Linked DNA regions of Homo sapiens: region 1 is linked to region 2. Evidence: promoter capture Hi-C in human tissues and cell types (Jung and others, 2019). All regions are on one chromosome and are shown on one strand. The core of a region is centred on a gene start or on the middle of the fragment in contact, and the rest is flanking DNA. Distances in the headings are between cores, read along the strand shown. Region 1 holds the start of FAAP20 (FA core complex associated protein 20). Region 2 holds the start of TNFRSF14 (TNF receptor superfamily member 14).

Evidence for each region. Contacts are between HindIII fragments. The study calls those that stand out against the background at their distance.
Region 1: a contact is called between a fragment that was not itself captured here and the fragment with the promoter of TNFRSF14 in region 2, in 1 of the 25 tissues and cell types used here (dorsolateral prefrontal cortex).

Annotation. Positions count from the first base shown.
Region 1 is chr1:2,193,210-2,195,909 of GRCh38, forward strand. FAAP20 (FA core complex associated protein 20) reads right to left here and starts at 1,563. Exons shown (of 4, transcript NM_182533.4): 1 at 1,479-1,563; 2 at 789-924; 3 at 430-701. The coding sequence starts at 1,540. RefSeq lists silencers at 1,318-1,407, 1,418-1,897 and an enhancer at 2,531-2,700. The HindIII fragment of the contact is 5,508 bases long and covers 1-2,700 here.
Region 2 is chr1:2,555,116-2,557,815 of GRCh38, forward strand. TNFRSF14 (TNF receptor superfamily member 14) reads left to right here and starts at 1,256. Exons shown (of 8, transcript NM_003820.4): 1 at 1,256-1,618; 2 at 2,611-2,700. The coding sequence starts at 1,550. TNFRSF14-AS1 (TNFRSF14 antisense RNA 1) reads right to left here and starts at 1,896. Exons shown (of 7, transcript NR_037844.2): 1 at 1,862-1,896; 2 at 1-1,581. The HindIII fragment of the contact is 19,271 bases long and covers 1-2,700 here.

The DNA of each region.
Region 1 (2,700 bases), core at 61-2,560, 360 kb before region 2:
TACATAAAAATATACGTTGGGTTTCAAAAATAAGAAAAAGCATCTCCAGACAAAAAAGACGATCTTCATTTTTAAAACCCATGACGCACTCTCGGGAAGGTGTTCCTGTGCTCTGGGCCTGGGGACGCTGGTGCCACCAGATTCCAGGATGGCCAGGTGGACCCGGGGCCAGTGCTCCCAGCCTTCCTTCTGTGCTGTTCTGTGGGCCCCCAGCCTGCCCTGCCCACAGAGCACGGCAAGCAGGTGGACCCCAGACCCGTGACAGAGAGCCACCTGGACATGCCAGGCCACAGCACTGGGCCACCTTTCCAGTGTGAAACAGGGCTTTAAAAGCCAGCGCTGAGCTCGGCCACCTCTTGACCTTCTGAACGGCTGTGGTTTCCAAACACGGATGGATAACCGGGCCGGGCGCAGGGGTGGCCTACTCACCTGGGGGCGAACTCCTTCTGGCACATGGGGCAGCTGCGCAGGGCCGCGGCACCCTCCACAGACGGCTGCTGCTCCACCCTGGGGGCCCTGCAGGGATCAGGTGCCGGGCGCTGGGGCAGGGACCTGGCGGGGGATTCCAGGTGCCCTCCTGCCCCGTGAAGCAGCCGGTAGGAACGGCCCGGGCCCCACAGGTCCGGCGGAAAGGGTGTCCAGGAAAAGGTCTTGGGTCCGACAGTGAAGACTTCAGTGGGCTCCGGGCCGCACCTGGGCTCCTGCAACACAGAGTTGTTGGGCCTTGCCCAGCGATGGCTCCCGCCCTGGAAACCCCTTCATCGCTAAGATGGGCCCAGTGGGCACACCTGTCCTGGGAAGGCGGGCAGTGAAGGCACCTCGTGATCCAGGATCAGCTCCGGGCTCACCGTGCGCAGTAGCTCGGCCCAGAGCCGCTCCCGCTCATCACCCCCCAGGAGAAACCAGGGGCGGCCGCCAGAAGGCCTGGGGCAGACAGAGAGGGCAGACAGGGGGTACTCAGTAGCGGAAACGCTATGGTGGGGAGACCCGGGAGGGCCTGGGGCAGAGAGAGCGGGGAGATGGGGGGTACTAGAGGGAAATTCGATGGTGCGGGAGGTGGCCGGCAGGGTTGGGGGAAGGGCTGCTGGGGCAGACAGTGCGGAGATGAGGGGTACTGGGGGTGGGGGAGCGGGGTGGGTGGGTGGAAATATGGGGTCCTCAGCGGGATGAGGCGATGGTTGGGGAGATTGCGGAGGGCCTGGGGAAGGTAGAGGGTTAGATGGGGGGTGCTCAGGGGAGACGCGATGATGGGAGAGGCGCGGGAGGGCCTGGGGCGGCGCGGGGGAAGCTCGGCGTGGGGTGGGGGCTCAAGGCGGGCGCTGAATGGCGGCGCGGGGTGGGGCGACGGGCGTGGGGGCCGGGCCCGGGGGCAGGGAGCCCTCCCCAGGGGGAGAATAGAGCGGGAGGCCCGCGGGGGCGCCGGGAAGCACGTGGGAGCGGGAAAACCGGCCGCGCCCCCGCCCGGCTCCCGGCCTCACCCGCCCGCCGGGCGCGGCCTCCGGCGGCTCAACCCCAGCCGCGGCCTCCGCGCCGCCTCCATCCAAGCCCGCGCCGGGCGGAAGTGAGCGCAAGCCCCGCCCCCGCCCCTCCAGGCCCCGCCCCCGCCCCGGCCCCGCCTCCAGACCTCTGCAGCGAGGCCGCCCCCCTCCGAGACAGTCGGAACCCCAGGGGCCCTGATCCCAGCCTGTAGGGAAACTGAGGCCAGGGTTCCTTCGTCCTGCACCGCACAGGGGGGCCTGGCGTGAGGGTGGGGGGCCCAGGTGGGGGAGCCCCGCCCGTGTCCCCTTTCCCGTCCGGGCAGCCCCCGGGCCGGAGCCCCCTCCGTTACCCCGATGGCTGCCCGGCCCGCCCCGGCACTGCCTCCTCCCGGCTGCACCCAACAGCTCCCGCCCCCGTTTCCGGCTCTGCGGAGCCGCCTCTCCTCCCAGGACCATTCCAGGAGTAAATAAAGCTTGAAATCCGCCGTCGCCACCACCGTTTCTTTACAAAAGGCGGGGAACTCAAGCTCCTTAACCAAGAAACCAGAGGCGAAGTGACAAAGTCCAGGTGGCTCACTTGGGCCTCAGGGGCCTGGGCCAGGGCCCTGGGGGCAGCTGAGGGGCTTTCCTGCCTGGACCCCGGGCTCTGCGACCTCAAAGTCGGCCACGTGGTGGCAGCAGCCGCCCAGGCACCCTGGTGCCACACTTGGCTGTGCCCAGTGCCCCATGGGCCCAGGCCACTTGCCTCTCCCTTGGCCCTGCTGGGCCCTGGAGTGGCTGCCACCCTCACGGAAGGAGTGGGGTCTACAGAGATCAGGGTCAGGGGCCCTCGCCAGACGCCACTCAGGGCTCTGGGACTCCTTGGCAGTTTCTGCCCTGCCCAGCCCCAGCAGCTTTGGGGCTATGCTGGGCACCCCTCCTGCAGGGCTCCCTGGCTGTTCCTACCCCTCACCTGGCCCCTCCCAGCCCCCAGTCGTCTGTGCCCTCCCTCCAGAACTCAGCTGTGGAGCCCGGCCCTGAACCCAGGCCACCCGAGTGGCCCACCGTCCTTCAAGGGGCCCCAGCCTGGAGGCCATAGGTTGGTGTTCAGGGAAAGGGTCAGCAGCAGGGCCTGGACTGGGAGGTCCCCCTCTCCCTGCATGAGTGGTTTTCTTCCGCACACCTTCCTGCTCTAGATGCTGGAGGCCCCCAGCAGAACAAGATGGAGGCACCAACCCCCAGG
Region 2 (2,700 bases), core at 6-2,505:
TCCTGCGTGTCTCTTGGGGGCTTTTCCTCCACTGGGTGCCACCTGGTCCCCCACCCTGCCTCAGAGTATTGGGGTCTGGGCTCGTCCACCCTGGATGCTGGCCAGGAGTGCACCTGCCTCTGGAGCTCGGGACGCTTGGCCCCACAGGACGGTGTCGCACACCACAGCCGGCCTAACTTCACCCCTGCCTGCTCCCTCTCCAGGGCCGGCCTGCAGGGCTGCACACTTTCTAGTTGGGGTGCAGGTCCCCGGGCTCCTGCCACAGATTCCTGTGGCTGGCCACCCTGCCAACTCTCCTGCAGGTGAGGGTGGGCGCAATCCCCAAGGTCCTTTCCACCAGATGCCACTGAGTCCCCCAGGGGCCAGGGCTGGACCCTGGAGGGGGTCACCTGGCTGAAGTCAGGACCAGGAGGGGCAGGGGGCAGTCGAGGGGCAGGGGGCGGTCCTGGGCCAGGCGTCTGGCAGATGGGCTTGCTGGAGGTGGGGGTTCCTGGTGTGCAGCAGGCGGTGCCAGAGGGGGTGACTGGGACCTGCTCTGGGCAAGCACAGGCGGTGCGTGACAGACCTGGGCTTCCATTGACTGCATCACGTCCAGCAGCAGGAAGGGGCCACGGGGGCACTGGCGTCGTCACGTGGGTCACGAGGTTCCATGTGATGCAGGGAGCGAGGCCGTCACGAGGGACTCACTGGTGCCTGCCTTGGGGCTCCGGGACTGTGGGCTGTCTCCATCCGGAGGTCTCCCTACCACCAGGCTCTGTGGGGCAGGGAAGCCCAGTGGGGTGCAGGGAGCCAGGAAGCTGGGGTGGGGTCAGGGCAGGGTCCACAGGGAGACCGGGCGAGGCTGGCAGCCTTCCCAGTCCGCGCAGCGTCTCTGCAGGGGGAGCAAGAGCTGCCCTTCCACCCCTCCCAGGGGACGGGTAGGGGCACTCTGGGCTTTTCCCACCCCCTCACGCAGGGACACAGGCCTGGTGGGTCTATGACTGAAATTGGCCAGACCGCATTCTGGTGGTTTTATTCGGAAGGGAAGTTTACCCTGTTCAGCAGAAGCTGAGATGGGAACAGGAAACCCACAGGGCCCCTTTATTCGGCAAAAATGTCAGTCAGCGCCCCGGGGAGCAGCCGAGGGTCCCTGAGTGTGTGAGTGAGGTGGGGAAACACAGATGGACTTTGGGGGGCTCCCCCTTCTACAGGAAACCCGGAGTGGACTGGAATGGTGCAGGGGGAGAACTCGCCCCTCCCATCGGGCGCCTCCTTCATACCGGCCCTTCCCCTCGGCTTTGCCTGGACAGCTCCTGCCTCCCGCAGGGCCCACCTGTGTCCCCCAGCGCCGCTCCACCCAGCAGGCCTGAGCCCCTCTCTGCTGCCAGACACCCCCTGCTGCCCACTCTCCTGCTGCTCGGGTTCTGAGGCACAGCTTGTCACACCGAGGCGGATTCTCTTTCTCTTTCTCTTTCTCTTCTGGCCCACAGCCGCAGCAATGGCGCTGAGTTCCTCTGCTGGAGTTCATCCTGCTAGCTGGGTTCCCGAGCTGCCGGTCTGAGCCTGAGGCATGGAGCCTCCTGGAGACTGGGGGCCTCCTCCCTGGAGATCCACCCCCAAAACCGACGTCTTGAGGCTGGTGAGCCCCCGAGCCTCCTCTCCGTCTGCTCGCAGATCCCAGTTCTGACCCCAGGGCCTCCCACAGATCTCTTCCCCATGCCCCTGTCCTGGCCGTTGCTGGCTCCGGCGTCCAGCCCGTCCCCTGCTGCCTGGGGCTCTCGGGTCAACCCAGACCCCCAGCACTGGGCTCACCACAGTGGGGTGAGCAGCAGAGCCACAGCCCTACCCAGCAGACCTCCTCCTGCGTGTGTCCCCCACTCACCACTCCGTCCACGGGCAGCTGGTGAGCCCCCATTTGGCCGGATGTGGGCACTTCTGGGGGCTGGGTGTCTCTGGGCGTCTCTGGGCGGGGCCCTCGAGCAGGTGACCCAACTCCCCGGCAGCCCTGACCTTGGTGACAGGTGATAAGATCAGTGTGCAGCAGGGGGCTGGACCCAGGTGGGTGGGGTGGGGATACTCTCCATGCTCATGTGGCACTCCTGCCTGTCCAGCCACTATCCCCATCAGGGGCCCCCGACTGCCCATCAGCCAGCCCAGGAACGAGGCCACGGCAGAGCCACCCTCCCCGATGTGGCCCTGATCAGCCTGTCACCCACTGTCTGGCTTGTGAGCCTCTGGGGCCCATCCCTGGCTGCCCCTGCTGGCTCTTCAGGGGTCAGCAGGTCCAACCTAGGCCAGCAGGGGGGCCGGCAGGTTGTCTGCCCAGTGGGCTCAATGCTCCCAGGTGTGGGGTGTGGGGTCCCTGGCGAGGGCAGAGTTCCAGTTCCCAGGGCTCCGCGCTGCCAGGCAGCGTCATCAGGGCTGGAGGAGGGGCGGTCCCCACCCTATCCCGGGCTCCAGCGGTCGGCAAGGTTGTTCCATGAGCCTGGCCTGGGGCCCGCTTCTGTCCTCTCTACCAGGCACTGCCGCTCCTCCCCATTGCACAGAGGGAGATTCAGGCTGTGGGGCCAAGCCTGGCAGAGCCCACAGGGCAGCCAGGGCATCTCCCAATGCCTGTCCTGACCCCCTTAGGTGCTGTATCTCACCTTCCTGGGAGCCCCCTGCTACGCCCCAGCTCTGCCGTCCTGCAAGGAGGACGAGTACCCAGTGGGCTCCGAGTGC